Linked DNA regions of Homo sapiens: region 2 is linked to region 1. Evidence: promoter capture Hi-C in 16 types of primary human blood cells and fetal thymus (Javierre and others, 2016). All regions are on one chromosome and are shown on one strand. Each heading gives the region's core, a stretch centred on a gene start or on the middle of the fragment in contact. The rest is flanking DNA. Distances are from core to core; before and after follow the strand shown.

Evidence for each region. Contacts are between HindIII fragments. The CHiCAGO score rates a contact against its expected background, and 5 or more counts as called.
Region 2: a contact is called between the fragment with the promoter of PTGDS here and the fragment with the promoter of CCDC183 in region 1, in 2 of 17 cell types (activated CD4 T cells and endothelial precursors). The highest score is 6.1, in activated CD4 T cells.

Annotation. Positions count from the first base shown.
Region 1 is chr9:136,794,013-136,799,994 of GRCh38, reverse strand. CCDC183 (coiled-coil domain containing 183) reads right to left here and starts at 3,657. Exons shown (of 14, transcript NM_001039374.5): 1 at 3,528-3,657; 2 at 772-893; 3 at 205-282. The coding sequence starts at 3,597. RefSeq lists silencers at 1-14, 2,724-3,018 and enhancers at 1-454, 3,735-4,236. The HindIII fragment of the contact is 12,043 bases long and covers 1-5,982 here.
Region 2 is chr9:136,974,801-136,980,782 of GRCh38, reverse strand. PTGDS (prostaglandin D2 synthase) reads right to left here and starts at 3,279. Exons shown (of 7, transcript NM_000954.6): 1 at 3,091-3,279; 2 at 1,651-1,790; 3 at 1,484-1,560; 4 at 721-837; 5 at 499-600. The coding sequence starts at 3,204. It also overlaps LOC124902312. RefSeq lists an enhancer at 1,240-2,219. The HindIII fragment of the contact is 17,671 bases long and covers 1-5,982 here.

The DNA.
Region 1 (5,982 bases), core at 2,408-4,907:
GGGAAGGGCACCGCCCACTCGTGGTTGCGTAGGGGGCCGCCATGGAGCCCGCCAGCAGGCGGGCGGGTGGAGGCTCGTGGCAACCCCACAGGGAACCTGGGGCTGGGCACCTGCTCCGTCCCTCGTCGGCTCCGCAACATCTAGTGGGGGGGTGCTGGCAGGGGTGGGGAGGGTTGGGTCTCGAGGCCCCTCCTGCCTGGTTACCTCCATGGTGCTGCGGCAGTGCGCCAGTCGCAAAGGCAAGTTTTTCCCGCAGGCCTTGGAGATGGTCCACTGGTCATACTGCGGAGCGGCGGCGGCTGAGCTAGAGCGGGCCCTTTGCGCACCCGCAGCCGCTGGCTCCTCCAGGCATTCTCCCCAGGGCCTCTTGTATCCCACGCTAGCCCAGTAGCGAGATCCCTGCTTCCACGAGGAGCAGAGAGCCGCGGGACCCCATCCTGGCCATCCAAGTTCGGAGGCGACGTGGTAGGGGGGTATGCAGAGGAGGGCCTGGGTGTCCCCTAGCTGGCCGGAGAGCCAGAGGGGGCCCCTGCTGCAGGATGTGGGCTCACAGATGCCAAGCCCTCGGGTTGGGTGGTGGGAAACCTGCCCACCGGATGCTGGGGTGACTGGAGCCCAGGGCACAGGTCCTAGCAGAGCCCCTCCTCACATGCCCCCTGGATCCAGAAAGATTGGGGTGGGGGTGGAGAGGAGGTGCCCGCCCTCCGAGTGTGTGTGTACTCAGCTCCTGCCCTGCTCGCCAGGCAGAGGGGAGGGGCGGCGTTTGTGTACCTTCTTGGCCAAAGCCCAGTCCTGGGCCCCGCGGCGGATGTTGCTGCGCAGGAGGGCCAGCGTGGCCTTGTTCTGGTCCATATTCTCTTTCACCCCTTGGATCTGGAGTGCCCGACACTGCTCTGTGGGCAGGTGGAGGGGACACAGTGGCTAGGATTGGGCCAAGGGCCTGGCCTGGAATCCCCTGGGGGAGGCTTGCATCAGGGAGGCCCCAGGCCCCAGGGTCCAGGGGGATGCCCCCTCCATGGCCAAGATCCCTCCTCCCGCCCTGTCCTGGGGGACACCGCTCCACTGCCCAGCAGCAGCTGTCTGAAGGGCTCTCAGTGGACAGGTGCGGGGAGGTGGACAGGTGGGGAGGGTGAGGCAAAGGAGAGGGATGGCAGGGTCCTGTGGTCCCGTCCAGATTTGCTGCCCATGGAAGCAGGTGGGTGTTTTCCTGTCCATTCTGGCTTTGGGGCCCGTGTTGCTCTTATGCTCACGTCTCCTTGAAGCCCCTCTCTCTGATTTAGTCCCTCCATGCAGGTCCCTTTGATCCCTTCTCCCAGCTCTGTCAGGGAGTGGGCAGTAGGGGGGTCTGTTTTCCCCTCCATGTCCTGGATTGTCCCTGTATTAAAACTAAAAGTCCTAGGCCAGGAGCGGTGGCTCACACCTGTAATCCCAGCACTTTGGGAGGCCGAAGTGGGCGGATCACCTGTGGTCAGGAGTTCGAGACCAGCCTGGCCAACATGGTGAAACCCCATCTCTACTAAAAATACAAAACTAGCTGGGTGTGGTGGTGTGTGCCTGTAGTCCCAGCTACTCAGGAGGCTGAGGCAGAATTGTTTGAACCCAGGAGGTGGAGGTTGCAGTGAGCTGAGATTGCACCACTGCACTCCACCTGGACGACAGAATGAGACTCTGTCTCAAAAAAATAAATAAGCTAGGCGCCGGTGGCTCATGCCTGTAATCCCAGCACTTTGGGAGGCCGAGGCGGATGGATCACCTGAGGTCAGGAGTTTGAGACCAGCCTGGCCAAGATGGGTAAACCCCGTCTCTACTAAAAATACAAAAATTAGCTGGGCGTGGTGGTGGGCACCTGTAATCCCAGCTACTCGGGAGGCTGAGGCAGGAGAATCACTTGAACCCGGGAGGTGGAGGTTGCAGTGTGCTGAGATTGCACCATTGCACTCCAGCCTGGGTGACAGAGCGAGACTGCGTCTCAAAATAAATAAATAAATAAAAATACAAATACGAAAATTAGCTGAGTGTGGTGGCGTACACCTGATGTCCCAACTAATCAAGAGGCTGAGCCAGGAGAATCGCTCGAACCCGGGAGGTGGAGGTTGCAGTGAGCCGAGATCATGCCACTGCACTCGAGCCTGCGTGACAGAGCGAGACTCTGTCTCCAAACAAACATCCCCTAAAAGTGAAGGGGGCCTGCCCCTCCACACCTGCGGGTATTTCTCGTCAGGTGGGATGAAGACTGAGAAAAGAAATAAGACACAGAGGCTGGGCATGGTGGCTCACGCCTGTAATCCCAGCACTTTGGGAGGCTGATGCGGGCAGATCACGAGGTCAGGTGATCGAGACCATCCTGGCTAACACGGTGAAACCGCATCTCTACTAAAAATACAAAAAATTAGCCGGGCATGGTGGTGGGTGCCTGTAGTCCCAGCTACTTGGGAGGCTGAGGCAGGAGAATGACGTGAACCCAGGAGGTGGAGCTTGCAGTGAGCCGAGATCGCGCCACTGCACTGCCGTCTGGGCAACAGAGCAAGACTCCATCTCATAAAAAAAAAAAAAAAAGACACAAAGTATAGAGAAAGAACAGTGGGCCCAGGGGACTGGCACACTCAGCATGCGAGGACCTGCACCAGCCCTGGTCTCTGAGTTCCCTCAGTATTTACTGATCATTATTTTTACTATCTTGGTGAGGGGAGTGTAGCAGGGCAACAGGTGGTGAGAACGTCAGCAGGGAAACATGTGAGCAAAGGAATCTTTATCATGAATAAGTTCAAGGAAAGGTACTATGCCCAGATGTGCACGTAGGCCAGATTTGTTTCACGTTACACAAACATCTCAGTGTAGCAAAGAGTAACAGAGCAGTATTGCTGCCAGCATATCTTGCCTCTAGCCACAGAGCGGTTTTCTCCTATCTTAGAATAGAACGAATGGGAATGGTCGGCTTTACACTGAGACATTCCATTCCCAGGGACGAGCAGGAGACAGATGCCTTCCTCTTATCTCAACTGCAAAGAGGCCTCCCTCTTTCACTACTCCTCAGCACAGACCCTTTACTGGTGTCGGGCTGGGGGATGGTAAGATCTTTCCTTTCCCACGAGGCCATATCTCAGGCTGTCTCAGTGGGGGGAAACCTTGGACAATTCCCAGGCTTTCCTGGGCAGAGGTCCCTGCGGCTTTCTGCAGTGCACTGTGTCCCTGGTTAATCAAGAATGGAGGATGGGGATGACTTTTACCAAGCATACTGCCTGCAAACACATTGTTAACAAAGCACATCCTGCACGGCCCTAAATGCATTAATCTTTGATTCAATACAGCACATGTTTCTGTGAGCACAGAGTTGGGGCTAAAGTTACAGGTTAATAGCATCTCAAAGCAGAAACAATTTTTCTTAGTACAGATCAAAATGGAGTTTCTTATGTCTTCCTTTTCTACATAGACAGTAACAATCTGATCTCTCTTTTCCCCACAAAAAGTTGTGCACCCAGAAACCCCCAGACGGGAAAGGGAGACTGGTCACGGCGGTGCAGGCTCACCCTGGAGCTGAGTGATGGTCTTCAGCTCCTGGGTCTGCTCTTCCACATCTGTCTCACTGTGCCTCCTCATGGCTGCTCTCAGGCCCCCCAAGGGACCCTGTGTACCTCAAAGCCTCCCTGGGCTCAGCTTGCTCAGAGCCGCCACTCAGATTGTCCCCAGAACCTCAGCCCATTATGATGAGAGCCAGGATTCTCAGTGCCTGGGCAACCCTGGAATTGCAGGGCCTCCTGCCTCACTCTGCCCCCAGCCACCTTGGGGTGGCCTCCAGACATGTGTCCTAATTGAAATGAGTCTCCTGGCAGCTGCTCGAGGCTTAGGAGCTCTGCCGGGCGGATGTGCTTTCTTTGAGGGGGAGGTTTGTGATGGGTCTGCAGCACCGGCAGCTCACACCTGCACTGGGTTCCCTCCCTGGCCCCTCCCATGCCCCAAGCCATCCTCCACAAAGCAGCAGGCCGAGCCTCCTAAAACGATTCTGATACTATTCTGATACTGCCTTACGGGACCTCCCTCTGCACCCCCCACCCCCAGCCCCAAGTCCAAACTCCATGCACTGGGTAACCTGGCTCTTGGGACACCCCCACCTTATCTCTTCTGACTTCTGTCCCTGACCTCTCTGTGCTGTCTGGAGCCCACCCTGCTTCACCCCCACTTTCCTTTGGGAATTACTGGGTCTTGGGTTCATGTGTCACTCCAGAAAGGGTATGTTCTCCATCTCTGCACCCCCTCCACCCTTCCCTTAGAGGGGAGTACCTGGAGCACCAGGCAGCCTGGAACTCTGTGGGGTATGCACGAGATGGGGTACACACGAGATGGGGTACTTTTTCCCAGCCTTGCCTTAGTAGGCTCAGGCGGCCATAACAAGGTGCCACTGGCCAGGTGTGGAGGCTCACGCCTGTAATCCCAGCACTTTGGGAGGCTGAGGTGGGTGGGTCACCTGAGGTCAGGAGTTCAAGACCAGTCTGGTCAACATGGTGAAACCCCGTTTCTACTAAAAATACAAAAATTAGCCCAGTGTGGTGGTGGGCGCCTGTCCCAGCTACTTGGGAAGCCGAGGCAGGAGAATTGCTTGAATCCAGGAGGTGGAGGTTGCAGTGAGCTGAGATCGCGTCACTGCACTCCAGCCTGCGTGACAGAGTAAGACTCCATCTCAAAAAAACAAAAAACAAAAAAACAAAAAAACAAGGCGCCACCGACTGGGGGATGTGAACAGCAGCCTGGAGGCTGGGGGCTGAGATCACGGGTCAGCAGGGCTGGTGTCTCCTGAGGCCCCTCTCCTTGGCTTGCAGATGCTGTCTTCTCTGTGTCCTCACGTGGCCGTCCCTCTGTGTGTCTGTGTCCTAATTTCCTCTTCTTATGAGGACACCCCAATGACCTCATTTTACCTTAATGACCTCTGGAAAGCCCCTGTCTTCAAATACAGAGACATGCAGAGGTCCTGGGGGACAGAAATTTGGGGGGACCCAAGCCAGCCCGACAATGGCCTTTGCCCATGTGCTGTCACATAGATCCCTTCCCTTTCTGGTCACTGTTTTTGGAAAGCCAGTCCAGGCAAACTCCAGGTTCTCCCTTCTCTCCCTCCCACCCAGGCCTCACCCTCAGGGTGCTGGGATGTCCTGCTAAGGGTGTGGTCTGCTTACCTCCCCCTCGTTCTTGGGGGCCAGGCTTGGAATCTAGCTGAGGCAGAGCCTACCTGCTGTCCTTCTTCCTCAGATATAAAACACCTGAATTTTAGTGGGCGCATGGCTGCCCAGAGCAACTCTGCCTTCCTGAGCATCCTGGCACTGGATGTGCCTGATGACTTCGTTCAGGCCAACAGAGTGAGAGCAGCAGTGGCAGGCAAGCTGCCCTCTCTCCTGCCTCTTAAATGAGATAAAGACACAATGGCCGAAGCTGGTGCAGCCGCCTGGGGCCATGAGGCAGATTTGGGAACAGAGACCATTACAGCAGGGAGCAGACTGAAAGGAGCCTGGTCCCCGATTCCCTGTCAACCCTGGACCACTCACTTGGACTTTTACATGAAAGAAAAATAAAGCTCAGCCCGGCGCGGTGCCCAGCGGCTCACGCCTATAATCCCAGCACTTTGGGAGGCCGAGGTGGGCAGATCACATGAGGTCAGGAGTTTGAGACCAGCCTGGCCAACATAGTGAAACCCCGTCTCTACTAAAAATACAGAATTAGCTGGGCATGGTGGCGCATACCTGTAATCCCAGCTACTCGGGAGGCTGAGGCAGGAGAATCGCTTGAACCCGGGCAGCAGAGGTTGTGGCGAGCTGAGACTGCACCACTGCACTCCAGCCTGGGCAACAAGAGTGAAACTCCATCTCAAAATAAATAAATAAATAAATATTAGCCAGGCGTGGTGGTGGGTGCCTATAATCCCAGCTACTTGGGAGGCTGAGGCAGGAGAATGGCTTGAACTGGTGAGGTGGAAGTTGCAGTGAGCCGACATCACGC
Region 2 (5,982 bases), core at 2,030-4,529, 180 kb before region 1:
ATTTTCCCACTGGGCTTCCTGTTCCTCCCGTAACGCAGAGCTCGTCTTGACTGAGCCCCCAAACTGCACAGATCCCCCATCACCTCCCACCTCTCCCTGGGCACTGGAAACAAAGAGAGGGTCTTTCTCCACCTCTGCCAAGAGCAGGCTGTCCACCCCTAGGAGGCTGTGCCTGAGCCCAGTATGGTTGGTTCCCCTGTATCCCCCATGGGCACCCTCTACCCTATGCCCCCCACCAGGCTGAAGCCCCACATCCTGGGAGCTGCTGGGGCCTGGCACAGAGTGGGCGCCTGGTCTCCATGTCCCCCATGGAGGGGGCTCCTCATGAAGGGGCTGCGGGAGGGAGGTTCTGACTTGAACACTCACCCCCTCTGTCCCTGGCCCAGGCCTCGAGCAGGGCGGGGCCACCTCCTCCCCTCTGCCTCCCCCAGTCAGGAGACTGCCTGCCTGCCTCTAATCTGACCTTGATCCTCTCCCCATCAGATTAGGACCCCTCACCGGTTTGGGGCAGGAAGACAATGGTATCCTCTGTGAAGCCCTGGGCCTTGCAGAAGGCGGTGAATTTCTCCTTTAACTCAGCCCTGGGGGTCTGGGTTCGGCCTGGGACAGGGTGGAGACGGAGCTGGCCTCAGCGGGGGGGATGCTGTGTGCCCTGCCCTGGGTCTTGGGGAGCCCCCTCTGGTCAGGCCTGCGTGTGGGCGGCGTCCACGGGGCACGTACTGTAGAGGGTGGCCATGCGGAAGTCCTCGCCAGGGCCCTTGCTGCCCTGGCTGTACAGCAGCGCGTACTGGTCGTAGTCGGTCTCCACCACTGACACGGAGTAGGTGCTGCCCCAGTCTGGGAACCCAAGAGACAACCCTGTCGGGGACTCAGCCCCCCAAACCTCACCTCTGCTTCAGGGAAGGGGTGCACCTGTGGGCTTTGGGGGCACTCAGCCCCTCGGCTGGCCCGGGATGCTCCCCCACCCGGCTGCTCTCCAGCCAGTGCCCTGCTCTCGCCTGCACAGCCTGTGAACCCTGTCCCCAAACCAGAATCTGGGGGAGCCAGGCTCAGAAAACCAGGATTCCTGGTGCAGCCGCAGAAGTCGCTGCCAGAACCGGAAGTGAAGAGGTTTCCCCGTGGGAGCCATTCCCCAGGTGGGAGTGAGGAAACCCCTGGGTCCTGGGGAGGAGAATTGGGAGGAGGCATATGGAGGGGCCTTGGGGGGCTGCTTATGTGGGGAAAACTCCAGAGGGCAGGGAAGGGGCCTGACAAGACAATGGTGGGCTCCAGAGAGGATCCAACCCCCTGGAGGAAGGGTCTCTCTGTCCCTAACACTTGTGCATGGGTAGTCACGCCCAGGCCTGGCCTTTGCCTCTGACGCTGGTGGGGCAGCCATCACCTCCCACCCCATGGATCTCCGCGGCAGGGGGCTGGCCCAGAGTCGTCCCGGCAAGTGTCGCCCCCAGGCTGGGCCCAGGGGGCCGGTGGAGGCCCCACTCACGGGGACTCCGGTAGCTGTAGGAGCCGAGGGACCCCGCGGGCTGCAGCAGCATGGTTCGGGTCTCACACTGGTTTTTCCTGTAGGTGGGTGACCTCAGGGTCAGGGGTTAGGCCCGAGGGTGTCCCTGGACCTCTCCGTCCCAGAAACCCACCTGCCCGCTGTCCCACCTGAGGAAGGTGGAGGTCAGGTTGAGGCCACCATCCGTGGCAGGGGCCACCACAGACTTGCACATGGACAACGCCGCCTTCTTCTCCCGGAGCCAGCTCGAGTTGGAGGCGAGGCCCGCGCTGAACCAGCGCCCCAGGAACTGCGGCGAGCGACCCCCACCCGCGTCGGCCAGGACCCTCCGGACCCACCTGCGCCTACCTGCGGGGGCGCCTCTGCCGTCTACTCCTCCGGTCTCCAACCCGGCCCCGCCCCCACGCCCAATCCCCCGAGCAGCCACGCCCCTCACGCCCCGCCCCAGGAACTGACCCCCGCCCCTCAATCCCCGCCCCAGGAGATGACCCCGCCCCTCACATCTCCGCCCCAGGAGCTGACCACGCCCCTCACATCCCCGCCCCAGGAGATGACCCCGCCCCTCACATCCCCGCCCCAGGAGCTGACCACGCCCCTCACGACCCCGCCCCAAGAGCTGGCCCCGCCCTTCATGTCCACAACCAGGGAACTGACCGCGCCCCTCACGCCCCATGCCCCCCTAGGAGCTGACCCCGCCCCTCACGTCCCCGCCCCAGGAGCTGACCACGCCCATCAGGCCCCCGCCCCGCCCCGGGAGGTGGCCCCGCCCCTCACGCCCCGCCCCAGGAGATGACCACGCCCCACTTCCCCCTCCCCCGGAGATGGCCCCGCCCCTCACGCCTCAGCCCCAGAAGCTGGCCACGCCCCTGACACCCAGCACCCCCGTCTGGCCACGCCCCTCCCGAGGACAGTCCCTCACCCTCGCACGCCGCCCACCAGCCAGCTTCGGCCCCTCCGCCCCCGGTCCCGATTCTGTGCCCTGGCTGAGCGCCTGGCCCATACAGCGGGCGGCAGAGGACGTCGCATTCCTGGCGGGGATCGGGGCGGGTCTTCGGCTCAGCTCTGCGGACCGCTGGGGTTCTCCTCGACGCCAGGGAGGGGCGCGCGGCGCGGGGACCCGCGCTCCGGCGCTTCCCCGAGCAGCTCCCGGGCGAGAGCGCGCGTCGCCGGCTGTCTGTGCGGTGCGCGTCCCTCCCAACCCCCACCGCGCACGGAGTGTTTGTCGCCATCCCTGTGCCCCACCCGCCCGTGTCCTGGCACCCAGGTGTGGAACGTGCGCTCGTGTGTCCTCTGGGGGTCGCGTGCCCACAGGGGTGGACGTGTCTGGCTGGCGTGGGCGCGTGTGTGGCCCGGTGTCTGCGTGGCCCATCAGGGGAGACGGGACGCGGTGCCCAGGGAGGGCTTCTCGCGGGCAGCCTCCTCGGGCGGCTACCCAGCCTCCTTCCTGCGCGCCCGCTCAGTCCCTGGCCGGCACTGCCCGGCACTGCGGGACTTCGCTCACTCCTCCCAGGGGGAAGACCCAGCCGGAAAGTGCCCTTCCCCTGACAGGGTCCTGTAGCCCTTGGGGATGACGCAGGAAAGCCCCTCACCTTGTCCTGCTGGAAGTTGGGCTGCACGGAGACCTGGGCCTCCGGTGCTGCCTGCAGGTCGCCCAGCACCCCCAGCAGGGCCAGTCCCATCCACAGTGTGTGATGAGTAGCCATTCTCCTGCAGCAGAGCGGGTGTCCGGGGCCTGGTGCCAGTGGTGTGGGAGAGCGAGGGAGGTGTGCAGGAGGAGCGGAGGGCACTGAGGAGACCCCTATTTATGGGCCAGGCTTGGCCTCCACCCAGGGCCCGGGGACAGCCCACTGAACACTCGTGATGCTGGGGGATGGGGTGGCCAGGCACAGCTGCAGCCTCGTCCCCCACAGGGCGCTTATGCAAGAGGCCTGGGCCTGCTGCCCCAGCTGAGGCAGCGTGGGGGTGAGGCAGAGGCCCCTGCCCACTGGTCCCAGAGACAGAGCTGGCAGGGACCTTGCCCACCCTCCTCCTGCTGGCAGGGCCCACCAACCCAGCGGCCCTGATAGGGCAGGGGCTGTGTTCCTCAGCCATGCCCGCCTCCGAGGCCTCTGGTGACTTCCCACTGGGGGCCAGGACCCACATCTCACAGCCCCTACCATCATTCCCTTTCCGAGCCCTGCCACCCCAGAAGGGGACACAAGCCCCACTTCCACCCTGAGAGTTTGGTCCTGAAACGCCCAGCAAGTGAAGTGTTGATGAGAAGCTCAGGCCAAGGTAGAGAAACTTGATCTGGCCCGCAGGGTCCCGAGGGCCAGGTTTGCTGGGCATGGCTTCCCCCATGGCCAGCTGTTGGGGCTCTGATAGTGACCCCTGGGTGCCCATTTCAGCCTGGGGCACCTTTGGGCTTGAGCACAGGCCCTATCCCTTGCCAGAGGCCCCAACTTCCCCCAGCAATCCCCCCACCCCAAGTCTGCCCCCCGCCGAGTCTGGGCCTCCCCACCCCGAGTCTGGTCCAGACTCGGGAGCACCCCGTGGGGCTGTCCTGTTACCCCAGCGCTGCACCCAGCTCCTTGGGCCCCTCCAGCTCGTTGGCCCTGGCTGGGGCCCTGTCACAGGCCGTCACAGGCAGGCACATGTGGTGGGCCCTCTCTGGATTCTGTTGGGACTGAGCTTCCCTGGCAGGCGTGGTGGGTGAGCGCTGCCGCTGGTCTGAAGGTGAGCCCGGGTGGGGAGCTGGGAAATGTACATGAGAGCAGGAGTGAGTCGGATGGGGTGGGGTGGTGAGCTTCTACGGGGCTGCTGGCGACCACTGGGGGCCGGAGCCCGTCTTCTTCCTGGATTCTGTGGCCCATCCCTTGCTGGGGGCGCACGAGCCCTGGGAGTGGGCTGGTGTGGACTGCTTCCTTGTTCCCCTTCCCCAGTGCCCGGGGGTCAAGGAGCCCAGACTGGGGGAGGCGCATGCCTATGTAGCAGCAGGGGCTAGTGGGCAGCACTGGTGTCAGGGCTGGTGGGGGTGGCCGGGTAGCATCCCAGGCAGAGGCCAAGGTGAGGGAGTGAGTCCCAGGGAGCCGGGAGGCACCTGAGAGGCAGGGAGAAGGAGGGCAGCGGTGCAGGGGGGCCAAGGCAGTCCTGAGAACCCACTCCTCCACCTGGACCTCCTATCAACCCCTGCCTGAAGCAGCAGCGTGCTGCTAGCTCAGATGCCATCTGTGCCATGGGCTGAGAGGGAGAGTCTGTTGGAACAGATAGGGGTGGGGTGCCTAAACCCGGGACCCCGCGTGGCCCGCAAGCCTGGCTCAGCTACAGAGCTGGGGGCTGCCGTCAGGACAGGGGAGGGGCAGGAAGAGAGTTGCGGCTGGGATATCACCACAAGACTGGCCTCCTGCCCGCTGCCAGCTGAGTCCTGGCTGTCATTCCACTCTGGTGGGGCTGGTGGCTCGCTGACTGGCCTGGCTGGAGGTCCCAACCCAGGCTAGGCTGGTCCAGGACAAGAGCGCCTCCCGGTGGTGAGCAAGCTCTGGGGTGTGGTGGCGGGTGGCCCGGGGCAGGGAGACCCAGGACACGTGGCTCTGGGTCTGAATGGCTTCCGTCTGGGCAGGCCTGGGTCACCTGCCAGGGAGGGACTCTGAAGTCTGATGGGGCCGGGTCCTCCCATAGCCAGAGGGGTTCCCAGGGATCTCGGGTGTCCAGCCCTCAAACCCAGTGCCTGGAACAGGGACCAAGCCCCTCCTCTTCCCCATTTTCTAGTGGGCTGCAGAAAGCCCAGCAGGTCCCATGTCCCTTCTCCTCCCTGACCAGTCGTTACCGAGACCATATGGTCGTTGGCGCCTGGAGAGCTGGAAGAGCTAACAGGATCATGCTTCGGTTCAGGACGGACTCCTCAGTCCCTGTGGTCAAGATGGCCAGCAGGTGGTCAGAGACACTCCCCAGACACGGCTGAGTGAGGACCAGTGAGTGGGAGCTGCCCACGAGCCCTGATTCATGGGTGCACCTGGGCCCACCCGAGGGCTGGAGATTCATCTCTCACCACATCCAGGAAGGGCTGGGCAGTTGCCAGCTCCTGGCACGCCAGATTTCTCCCCTCCTCCCCCGGCTAGGACTGTGCAAGGTGGACAGGGGCAGGAGGGACCTTCGCAGAGCCTCTTGCAGCTTGGGCAGGGACAAGGACCACCCTGCACACTCTCTGTGCCCTTCCCTTTGCTCTGAGCTTGGCTGCCAGGCAGGACCTTAGTGGAGCCTGGCGGAGGGCTGGGCAGGAAGAAGGCTGGCCGCCCCACCCTGCTCTCTGGGAACCAGTCTCTTTGAGTCACAAAATGCAAAGACTTGGCCTCCACCCTAAGAGGTCACCAAGGCCATCCCCCTGCCTGCGGCCCAGGCAGGTCATGGACAAGCCTGGTGGCCTGGGCCTAAGCTCCCAGAACTGACCCCAACCTTTTCCTGGAGGGAAGCTGTCTCCACCCTGGGGCCCCGGCCAGCATCCT